Regions from separate parts of the Homo sapiens genome. Here all the other regions are linked to region 2. Evidence: promoter capture Hi-C in human tissues and cell types (Jung and others, 2019). All regions are on one chromosome and are shown on one strand. Each heading gives the region's core, a stretch centred on a gene start or on the middle of the fragment in contact. The rest is flanking DNA. Distances are from core to core; before and after follow the strand shown.

Region 1 (3,864 bases), core at 265-2,764, 340 kb after region 2:
AAATGAGCAGTGTTTTTCTCTTGGGATAATGGAGGGATTTCTGCTTTTTATGTACTATATTTCAATGCACAAAAAAGTGAGAACATGAAATAATTTTTCATTTTGTTTTTCAGTCCATCAAAAAAAGCAACAACTATTAAAAACAAAACCAAATCACTGTACTCTGGAAATATTTGTGCTGAACAATCATGCTCAAAGGTCATGAAGATATGGTTTCCTGGTCTCAAAAAGCCCATCAGCATTAACCCACTTGCCCTTGCGATTTCCTCTCTCTGCTCACCAAGGTCGTTACCTCGATTTTCAACCTTTCATTGTGAGTGAGGAATCATTTCATTGTTTCTCTTTAACTTTAGATCCACTTAGATTCCTTTAAGTGCTACGGAATTGATTATTTAAGTGAATCAGTTAGAAGGTTCCAATTTTTCTTTCCCAGAAAGAAAGCTCAAGCCCACAAGCTTACGCTCAAGCTCAAGCTCACAAGCTCAAGATGACAAGTGCTTCTGTGTAGAAAGGGCTGGTAAACTTCCCTGGAAAGATCCTAATATTTGGTGCCTATCCTTTTCTCCTAAAAGCAAAGACAGGGGGTTTACGCTAGGGAGGATTTCTATTTTCAGCCAGAGAAAAACATTTACCTCCACCACTATGGGATATTGTTAACAGCAGGCAGATTTGGATGAAGTGTTCTGGGTGCTTTTCCTGAGAGACCAAAGCCCAACAAAGAAATGAGATCTGGTCCTCAGTGTAGGTCTGCCCGCTATGGGTTAGATTCTCAACTTGTTTCACTGTTTGGAGGGCTCAGGATGGTGGGTCTTTTACAACCCTGAGTCCCTGGAGACAAATTTGTCTCTTTCTTCTTCGCTGTAAGTCACTAACTCTACCCCTGGAAAGGCTGCTTCAGGACCTCCCTCCTTTGCTGGGTCCCTCAGGCCTGAGAAACAGCCAGAGTTGGGTTCAGAATGTGACTTGATGACGCAACAGCCGACCTGAAGTTGCAGTAAGAATTATAGACCATAAAAGAGACGTTTAACTGAATTGCTTTTTTCCCCCTATCTGGAAGCAGTATGTTTCCAGCACAAGCATTGACACATAGGTTAGCAGTTTCCATTTTGGTCACATTACAATCAATGATGAGCAACAGGGGGATGGCCACTGTTGAATTTCACTCAGTTGTGAAACAGCCTAAACACACGGACTATGCCTGTAGTACTTGATGTCTGGTACTGAGCAGAGTCAAAGACACCTTACGTAAAAGACCAATGATTACAATGCCTTAGGAAATGACCCATGTTTTGCCAACCCTTGCTCCTGTCTGGTGTCTGGCACCTCTGGGTCCACTGCCATGCCTAGCACAGTGCAGGTGGGCATTTAAGTGAAATGGTCCTCGCTTTGAAGGCTCTCTTTAAATCTGTCACTTTGAGCCTCCTGTTGTAAGATGAAAGTTGGTGGGAATTAAACATTTTAAGGCAAAAAAAGAAGAATGTTGAAGGAAAAAACCTATGTAGAATCATGGCAGAAAGCCATCTTTAAGGTATGCATTTTTACATTGTACAGAGATCTCAGCAAATAATTCACACGTATTAAGTAATTACTATGTGCCAGGAGCCTCGCTAAATGCTCTACATAGATTATCCCATCCACTTCCTCCCAGCATCACTCTCTGTGAGGTGAGCATTCTTAACCCTGTTGCACAGGCTGGGGAGAAGAGGCTTAGGGAGGATGCGTGGCCTGTAGAACATCACATGCCACATAAGGTATAGGGCCAGTATTCAAATCAAGGCAGTCTAACCCCAGGCCTGTGCTCATAACCTCACACAATGCAGCAGCCTGTTAATGTGAGACTCTGCTTATTAACAGGGGCAAAGGCAAGAAGTGGCCTGGAGCTCCTTTGCCGAGGACGTGGTGCTGAGCATCATGAGTGCACACATTATCTGTGCCTTCAAGGTTGGGGGCAGGGTCATGGGCCATGCAAATCCTTTCCTTCTCACTCCCTTGATTTATCACTGGACCTAGGCTATTTCAGAATAAATTTGTGCTAGTAACCGAATACAATACCTAAAACTGTTCCTTAAAATCTGAGTGGAAAGAGTGGAAAGAAGTCCTTTAGTGCATAGTCAGCTGTGGAGGAAAACCAAGGCCAGATGGAAGGGACTTGAAAAGCGTTTGTGGGGTCCTTCCACCACCAGAGGCTGAGGCTATAGCTATTTATGATAGAATATACCTTACTCCATGGGGAAAACTCTTGTCTAATCCCCCATCCCTCAAAAAATTATGTAAGGATAAAACATTATATTCTTTGAGAGATCTTTTACAATTTTTCCTACATACCTGTGAATGTCAATTTTACTTGACTCTAAGAACTTAAAATGGTTTCTATGTTATGTACTTTCTTTATTTTTTCCATCCACTTTCTAGAGTCCTGCTTTCTATCTAACATTGCTAATAAGTGCTGCTCTTTGCAATGGAAGATGGTGCCAGTGACTCACTTTCTAGAGGGCCACGCACTCTAAGATACTTCTCCTAGTGGGAGGAATTGGTATTGTCAACCTTTGGAGGCTGTTACTTTTTTCTGTGTAAAGTGAATTGGTCATTAGGGAACTCAAACCTTGAAGTTGGCATTGACTGTTTCTAGGGGACTAAAAGAAACATTGATCATAATACACACTCAACCTAAATGAAATAATCTTTTCTGAATGATTACATTATGAAAAGAGATTCATGGAACTTTTATTCTGGGAGGGACATTAAAAATCACTTAGTATAACCTCATATTTTTATACTGGCAGTAAGGACTCTTAGAGAATTGTTTTTTAATAGGTGAGGATACTAAAGCCCAAAGAGGGAAGTGATATGCCCAAGGTCTTATTGCTGTTAGTGGATTGTAACCCTGGCTGTACTACGCTAGAATAATTGGGAGAGTTGTTGAAAAGTACCGATGCTTGGGTCTCACTGCAGACTAATGAATCAGATTTTCTGGGCCTAAAGCCTGGGTTACTGGCACTTTTTAAAGCTCTCCAGCTGACTCTATCTGAGGCCAGAGTGGAGAAGCACTGAGCTAGACAAGAACCCAGCCCCCAGTCCCGAGACTGCCAGTGTTAGCAAACCCATGGCAGTCTCTCATTCCGCACCCCTGAGCCCATGGCAGACTTGACTCATGGGTCACTGAACTGTTTCCTGCTGTGCCTAACCTGGCCTTCTCATACTGTTCATCTGCTGCCTGTCCATGAGCATTGGGAAGACAACCTGAGACACAGCTACAGTCAGGCACTGTATCTTGGTTCCTCTAAATAAAATCACACAAAATATCTGAAAGTATTATTCTGGTAACACTGTGATTGTATATTCTCACAGTCCAGTGTATTCATCTATTGGTCTGTCAAGGCTCAATGGGGGAATACCAGGGTGAAAGCCCTGTGTGACTCAACTGAGCTAGGTCTGAACACTACTCTGCTATTTACAACCTGTGTGATTTTGGGCAAGTTTTTGTGCCTCAGTTTCTTCCATGTCTCTTCTCTGGCATTAATCTCCAGCAAAACTGAAGCCTGGACCCTCAGTCTTTCCTGCTTTTTAAATCTATCTGAACCACACAATCCCCTTAATCCCTGATACTAACTTGTTCTTATGAACAAAGACTTGGTAAGAGTTAGTGCTTAGGCCTCATTCCCAAGTACTCAGAGCGCCTGGAAATGGCCTTCCAAAGACACAATACTTCGACACATTTTTTTCTTGGGTATTGTGTACTTCTCTAGCCAGAGATGAACTTCGCAGTCTCCTAACAAATTGGATTCTGTTTAAATTGATTCTACTCAAAAGTGAGAGCAAAGGATGTAGGCTGCTGGACTGGATGCAAACAACGTGACAATCCCT
Region 2 (3,946 bases), core at 1,447-3,946:
CACGAATAAAAATTTTAAAGGAAAAAGCTGTACATGTAAAAATGTTTCTATCTTAACAAAAAACTAATTCAGTCCTGTTAAGTCTTTATAGTACTCAGCAAGCAAATGAAAATAATTTTATAGAATCAGTGTTTTAAATACCCATATCATTTGCAACCAGCACTACTCTCAGATAAAATGACATATGATTAAATATTAGTAAACAATTTTTACACGTTTTTCTACTTTATGAAAGCAAAAGACAAAATAGTGCCATGTATTAAATCAGCACAACTTTATATCTTTGAAATAAAATTACTGAAATTTTTCTTACCTTAAATCAGGCAAAGGTGAAGGATTAATAAAAAGATTTTTAAATCTGTAATTTGTAAATCTGGAGAAATCACTTGTTCCTATTTCTTTGTGAGGTGTTTCAATGATAATGCAAGGACTGATCCCCCCAGATAATACAGGTGGCCAACAATTCTGTCATAAAAAAAAAGAAAAATATCAATTTGTGCAAGGAAAACCTTAGTTTTTGTAATGGATCTTTCATAAATGAAAGCTAATATGTCTAAAGAATCATAATTTTAGCTAACATAGATGGCAATATAGCTAATTTGACATTCACATTTTATAAACAAGCCATATAGCTCATATTGATTTTTATAAAGAGTAATAGGATGTTTTAGACAACAAAATGCAATTCTGGTAATAGAAGACACCAGGTGTCGAAGAAGGACAGTAATAACAAAATGCATCTGCAGTCTAAAATACTAATCACTTTCAAGATCACAGAATCGTTCTCTGTATCTAGCAATAGTAGCAGGGACCTTTTTTTTTTTTTTTCAAATAAGCTCTTTTTAAAAAAAGTGTGCTCTGATACTTTTGAATATTTGAAAGCAAAACCTTAAAAATGGAATCGATTACTTAAACGATTCTTTTCCCAATAATGCTGGTTTCAAACGCAATCACTATCTCCAAAGTGCTGCTTTCTGTAAAACACATAGGAAGAAGAGGTACCAAAGGGCTGCGTGCCAGGCTGTCAGTGATCTCACATCCTATTTATGCCCAAGAAGCAGCTATTAGGACCGTCTACTAGAGTCTGCGAGGGAACAAAGAGCAGTATATTGGACAGATTAGGCGGGCCCTGGTGCACCAGGCAGTTCCAAGAGGGAGGGATTTACAAAAAGGAACCAGCTGCTTGAAGGCACTTATTCTGCAGCTGTAGTAGGATTCGGGCACATAGAAACCACCCAAAGATAGGCGCCTTCCTGCTGACCTCTAGGGGCATTAAAAGTAAAAGTGTCAGAGGAATCTATCGCAAAGCAATAAACACATAATTCTATTCTTATTCATCTATCCTCCATTTTTCCCCCAAACCCACCCAGCCCAGTTCTGCATTACCCTAATTTCATACTGATGTTTCTTGGTGACCTCCTCTCTTCTTTTTTTGACATCCTGGAAAATAGAAAAGACCATTGGTAAACTAAAGTCCCAGCATGGAATTTCGTTCCTCCCTCTTTCTCCTTAAATCACCTGGGTAGTTTTCCTCTTCTTGGCCTGGATTATCTGGGCTTCTTGGGGGGATTCCGTCTGGCTGGGCTGGGGCTGCTGCTTAGCTTGTAAACGGCTACTGTAGTGAATTTTTAAAAAGGAAGTGTAATTAGTAAGTTAAAGGCAGCAACTAATTTGAAACATGTCTCTAAGACAGATAATGTTACCTTCGTCTTGACATTCTCTTCTTTCAGGTGTATAAAACCTCTGAAGGGGGGAGAGGAAAAGCCGCAGTCAAGTACATTGTCATTCACATTCTCCAAGTGCCAGTAAGACGCTGATTCGCAGGTGAAAGCTCAGTCCCTCCGAAGGGGGCCTGGGCCCTGTGACCCTGCCATCTTCTGTGCTATGTTAGCTAGCTCATGGTAATTCATTTTGGATACAAGCCTGCATTTCCTCAACTGAATGTACAGCTGGAACGCGAGTGTCCAAAAATTTACCAAGCACTCCTGACACCTTGAACGCGCAGGGAGGCACATCTTCCTCAAACGGGTTTTTCTGGGTCCTCCACCCTCTCCCCCGTACACCGGGAGTGGGGCTTGGGCAGCGCCCCCACGTCCCGCCTCCCTCCTGGACCAGCGGGGAGAGGGGGTTGTGGAGGCGAAATGCTGTGGAGAAGCCGGTTCCGCGCCAATTTGGAGAGCGGCGGTGGCGGGGAAGCAGGGGGCGGAGGAACCAAGACTGGTGTCACGGCCTCCAGTCTCCTTTCCCTCCTTCCCGGCCCTGCCGCCCTACCGCCGCTCGGAGGGGCGCCGGGACCCCAACTCCAGATGGGAAGCGGAGGGCGTGGGGGAGGGCAGGAAAAGGAGCTAAAGAAAGGGGAGACTGGGCTGGCTGGGAACTTTTCTCCCCATGGAGGGGACCCGGCCTCCCATCCTCTCTCCCACGGGATAGCTCCCCAAATGAGGGTGGGATAGAGAAGCCCCTAGAATGAGGGGCGGCTCTCCATGCCCAGCCGCTTCCCGGTCCCCTGCCAAGGTTCCTGACAGGGACGGAACGCGGGAACCCATGACCCCCAGTCGTCTAGTTCTCAGCCCTCCCGATTTTCCTCCCTGAGGCTCCCGCCTGTGGTAAGTGATCGGCCCAACTGGGCTTTCTTTCCTCCCACATCCCCCCTACGCGCAGCAACTCCTCACCGCCAGACCAGCTACCGCTCGGCTCAGCTGGCGCCGGCGCCAACCCAATATATAGGCCGGGCCGGTCCCGCCCCGCACGCATGCGCCTCAGACTGACACCTCCGGACAGCGCGCTCCCCTCTCCCGCCCGTCCGCCCGCGTGCCCGCGCGCCGCGCCCTGCTCTCAGTGCGCGCCCGCCACCCGGAGCGGCCGTGGGGTCCACTCTACCGGGCCTTCTGCCCGCGTCCACCGCGCTCCACGGCGCGGCCGGCGGCGGTAGGGAAACTCTCAGGGGCTCCTTCTCCGCGGCTGTTCTCCCCGCCGCCTGGCTCGCGCATCTCCCGCCAGTTTGCTTTTGCTTCCTCCCACTGCAACTCCTGGATTTCGGGGGTGTCAGCCTGCGGCTCAGCCCGGGCGCATAACAGGGGGACACGACTCGGGCGACCATAGGGTGGCTGGGAAGTGACCGTCCAGGGGCGCGCCCTAGCTGTCCCGCCAAGGCCTCAGGGAACCCAGGTCTTTCCTGAGCGACGCGGGGACCCGAGGGCCCGCCCCTCGGGGAGGAGCAAAGCGTTGGCTGAAGAGCTGGCCAATGGGAGGCACGGGCGGCAGCACAACGTGGAGTGGCTGCAGAATGTAAACACCACTCAGCCACGCGCCTGGCCAAGTGCGGCTCTGCTCTCCCCAGTCCCGGTCCGCGACCACCCGGAGCCCGCTCCGCCGGCCTTGCGCGGCGCGCCCAGGGAAGGCATTTCCAGCCCGCCCACCCAGGTATGTATCAACCCTGCTTTCCGGCTCCCTGCTCCCCCTACCGGGTTTCCCTCCCCATGGGTCGGTCGCTCCCCCAACCCGCCGCTCTGCCCCTGCAGTGGCCTCCAGCTGCCACCCCGCAGTCCCCGCGCAGGAAACGCTCGCGCCACGCCGCGCCCTCCCTTGCTTCCTCTCTTCTCCACCTCCAATTCCGGGATCCCAGAGGGTAAAACCCCTCTCCGGAGCGGGGCCCGGGAACGGCATTCCTCCTCCCCCTGAGCGCGGTGGTCCCCGGGGACCTGGCCGGGTGGGAAGAAAGATCGCCACCACGTGCAGGCCCCGGGCCCGCCTGCCGCGCCCCGCCCCGCCGCCGCCGCCAGCGCGCCCTGCGGAGCCCGCGCGAGCCGGCAGCGCGGGAGGGCGCCGTTCGCGCCCGAGCGCTGTTGGGAGGAGGGGGGCCCGACGCTCTTCCTTTATCCTTCCCCGGGTGTTTAAACTTAGGGGTCCCTTCGCTGCCTCTATGAATGCCCCCACAACTGGCGCA
Region 3 (4,095 bases), core at 163-2,662, 280 kb before region 2:
ATAGTTTTTGTGGTGAGGGGATTTCTGTTTGGGATAGGTATATGAAAATATGAATGGCTTCTGGAGTGACTGGCAAGATTCTGTCTTCTTTCATGTAGAAAGAAAGAAGAAAACTAACATACAACTTAATAAATTATATAAAGCAAAGTGTTTGCCTTATTTCTGTATTTGTGTTATGTTTTAAAAATTAAAAATCAGGGCCAGGCGCAGTGGCTCACGCCTGTAATCCCCACACTTTGGGAGCCCAAGGCGGGCAGATCATCTGAGATCGGGAGTTCAAGACTAGCCTGACCAACATGGAGAAAACCCATCTCTACTAAAAATACAAAATTAGCTGGGCGTGATGGCGCATGCCTGTAATCCCAGCTACTCAGGAGGCAGAGGCAAGAGAATCGCTTGAACCCAGGAGGCTCAGGTTGCAGTGAGCTGAGATCGCACCACTGCACTCCAGCCTGGGCAACAAGAGCGAAACTCCGCCTCAAAAAACCCAATGCCAAACCAAAACCAAACCCAAAACAAACAAACAAAACAGGTTTAATATGTCTCCCAAAATGTAAAATGATACAACCACTTCAGAAAACTGGCAATTCCTAATGAATTTAAATGTATACTCTATGATGCAGCAATTCTACTCATCAGGTAATTTCCCAAGACAAAATAAAATGTACAACTATGAAAAGAGTTGTACACAAATGTTTATAGTAGCTTTATTCAAAACTGCCTGAAAAAAATCTGGAAACAGTCTAAATGTCCATCCATATGAAAATTAATAAGCAAATTGTGGTATATCCATACCGTAGAATACTATTCATCAGTAAAAAGAACTATTACATGCAACCAGGTGGATAAATCTCAAAAACTTGCTAAACAAAATAAGCCAGACACAAAAAAACACATGTTATATGATTCCATTTATATGAAGTTCAACATCAGGCAAATCTAATCTATAGTAATAGTACTCAGGATAGTGGTTAACTCTGGATGGCAAAAAATTTATACTTCCCACGAAGTTTGGGGGCTTGGAAAATTACATTATAAATCCCTTAGTTTGAGTCATTTTTATTAATAGAAAACTAGTTTCTCTTCACCCTCACTAAGGAAATGTCGAACAAACACTGACAGTATAGCTGTTAACTAGAAGGGGTATCAAATTTTCAATCTGGGGCCAGGCACCGGGGCTCACACATGTAATCCCAAAACTTTGGGAGGTCTAGGTGGGTGGATCACCTGAGGTCAGGAGTGTGAGACCAGCCTGGCCAACATGGTGGAACCCTGTCTCTACTAGAACTATAAAAATTATCTGGGCGTGGTGGCAGGCCCCTGTAATCTCAGCTACTCCGGAGGCTGAGGCAGGAGAATTGCTTGAACCCTGGAGGTGGAGGTTGCAGTGAGCTAGGATCATGCATGCCACTGCACTCCAGCCTGGGCAACAGAGTGAGGCTCTGTCTCATAAAAAACAAAAAACAAAAAAATTTCTGCCAGGTGCGGTGGCTCACGCCTGTAATCCCAGCATTTTGGGAGGCCAAGGCAGGAGGATCACGAGGTCAGGAAATCGAGACCATCCTGGCTAACACGGTGAAACCCCGTTTCTACTAAAAATACAAAAAATTAGCCCGGCGAGGTGGCGGGGGCCTGTAGTCCCAGCTACTCGGGAGGCTGAGGCAGGAGAATGGCGTGAACCCGGGAGGCAGAGCTTGCAGTGAGCCGAGATCGCGCCACTGCACTCCAGCCTGGGCGACAACGAGACTCCGTCTCAAAAACAAAAACAAAAACAAAAAAACATTCTGTCTGTCCCTGGGAGTATCTGTCGTGAACACAGGCTATGGAGAAAAGAAAGGAACATACCGTTGAGGGGGTGAGGTGGTGGAGAGTGTCGCTTGAATGCAGAAATACCTTGCCTTCACCATGCCACAGTTCTCTTTCTAGCCAGTTCTCCTGAACGCCCTTGAGTTAAGAGACTGTCCACCATTTAAGTTCCTCCTGAAAGGGTAGCCAAGGAAGGAGGGAGCTGCTAGGCAAGTGCCGTCTTTCCAGTCAGAGATGTGTCTTACTGTATTATTTAACTTAATTATTATTTTTTATTGTTATTATTAATATTATTTTGGGATGGAGTCTTGCTCTGTCGCCCAGGCTGGAGTGCAGTGGCGTGACTTGGCTCACTGAAACCTCCGCCCCTTGGGTTCAAGCCATTCTCCTGCCTCAGCCTCTGGAGTAGCTGAGATTACAGGCATACACCACCATGCCTGGCTAACTTTGTATTTTTAGTAGAGACGGGGTTTCACCATATTAGCCAGGCTGGTCTCAAACTCCTGATCTCGTGATCCACCCGCCTCAGCCACCCAAAGTGCTGGGATTACAGGCGTGAGCCACTGCGCACAGCAATTATTATTATTATTAGAGACAGAGCCTCACTCCAGTTGTCTATTATGGAGTGCAGTGGTATGGTCTCAGCTCACTGTGGCCTCGACTTTCCCAGTTCAAGCGATCCTTTGACCTCAGCCTCCCAAGTAGCTAGGACTACAGGCATGCACCACCACACCCGGCGAATTTTTTAAACTTTTTGTCGAGACCGGGTTTCACCATGTTGCCCAGGCTGGGCTCGAACTCCTGGGCTTAAGCAATCCTCCGGCCTCCGCCTGCCGGCGTGAGCCCCCACGACCGGCCATGTTTATTGTTATTATTTTTAGAGACAGGGTCTCCCTCTGTCGTCCAGGCTGGAGTGCAGTGGCGTAGTCACGGCTCACTGCAGCCTCGACCTGCCAGGCTCAAGCAATCCTCCCGCCTCAGCCTCCGGAATAGCTGAGATGATGGCTCCTATAGCGGCTGGCTCAGACACGTGCGTTTCCAGTTTCAGCTACTAGAGGGCAGAATTGTGGCAGCAGCAACTGTGAAATGTTTCCAGAAATGGAGACGCTGGAGGTTGAATTAGGCATCTCGCCAACTAAAAAGCAAGAAAAAATACGGGCCAGAAAAGGTACGGGAAGCAAGGGCTGGGCACAGCTGGTAGGCGGAATAAGGGTGTGGACAGACCTGGAGCTGAGGTGGCAGCAGGCTACTGAAGACTGCTGAGCTGCCGCATGAAAGAAACTCAGCCCCCACTCCCACTTCCCCCACACCCTCCCCACCCCCGACCCTGATTTTGCCTCTGACAAGGATATCCAAGGTGTGGCTACTGCAAAATAGGATCTGTAAGCCTGGACGTTTACACATCTCTTAGAGCCGGGTGAATCCACCCAGTGAAGAACAGTCTACGGAGGGATCCTCCCAGGAAAGTTGGAGGGAGACCAGAAGCAAGTACAGACAGAAAATGGGGGTGGCCTGTAGAAATGGAGGTATGATTTTTCAGGGGAGTGGTGGAGAAATTCTCCTCAGTCAGTAAATTAATGTCCAAAATCTTACCAGGCTGCGCTTTCCTTACCTTAAAGCTTTGATCCCAGTTAAAATGAAATGCGCAAGAAAAATGGAATACTGGCCGGGCACGGTGGCTCACGCCTGTAATCCCAGCACTCTGGGAGGCCGAATGGATCACCTAAGGTCAGGAATTCGAGACCAGCCTGACCAACATGGAGAAACCCCGTCTCTACTAAAAATACAAAATTAGCCGGGCATGGTGGCGCATGCCTGTAATCCCAGCTACTCAGGAGGCTGAGGCAGGAGAATCGCTTGAACTCGGGAGGCAGAGATTGCAGTGAGCCGAGATCACACCGTTGCACTCCAGCCTGGGCAACAAGAGCGAATCTCTGTCTCAAAAAAAAAAGAAAAGAAAAGAAAAATGGAATACTTGGAGTCACGTATGCTGTGGTGTGAATGACTGATTTATTAAATACATGTTAATAGAGCATGTGCTTTGTGGAGATGGGGTTTGATGCTAGTGGGGCTAGACCAACAATAAATAAGCAAACAAATACATAAGTAAAAAATCTCAGGCCAGGCGCGGTGGCTCACGCCTGTAATCCCAGCACTTTGGGAGGCAGAGGCGGGCGGATCACGAGGTCAGGAGATCGAGACCATCCTGGCCAACACAGTGAAACCCCGTCTCTACTAAAAATACAAAAAATTAGCCGGGCGTGGTGGCAGGCGCCTGTAGTCCCAGCT

What was found. Contacts are between HindIII fragments. The study calls those that stand out against the background at their distance.
Region 1: a contact is called between a fragment that was not itself captured here and the fragment with the promoter of CCNE2 in region 2, in 1 of the 25 tissues and cell types used here (lymphoblastoid cells).
Region 3: a contact is called between a fragment that was not itself captured here and the fragment with the promoter of CCNE2 in region 2, in 1 of the 25 tissues and cell types used here (thymus).

What each region holds. Positions count from the first base shown.
Region 1 is chr8:95,234,832-95,238,695 of GRCh38, forward strand. No RefSeq gene overlaps it. Among named protein-coding and RNA genes, the nearest start is that of LINC01298, 20 kb to the left of the region's middle. The HindIII fragment of the contact is 6,913 bases long and covers 1-3,864 here.
Region 2 is chr8:94,892,505-94,896,450 of GRCh38, forward strand. CCNE2 (cyclin E2) reads right to left here and starts at 2,697. Exons shown (of 12, transcript NM_057749.3): 1 at 2,673-2,697; 2 at 1,704-1,743; 3 at 1,519-1,615; 4 at 1,387-1,440; 5 at 314-465. The coding sequence starts at 1,717. It also overlaps a transcript of NDUFAF6 not described here. RefSeq lists an enhancer at 1,509-2,070 and silencers at 2,687-2,906, 3,287-3,386, 3,517-3,566, 3,737-3,786. The HindIII fragment of the contact is 13,775 bases long and covers 1-3,946 here.
Region 3 is chr8:94,610,197-94,614,291 of GRCh38, forward strand. No RefSeq gene overlaps it. Among named protein-coding and RNA genes, the nearest start is that of LINC02894, 27 kb to the right of the region's middle. The HindIII fragment of the contact is 7,585 bases long and covers 1-4,095 here.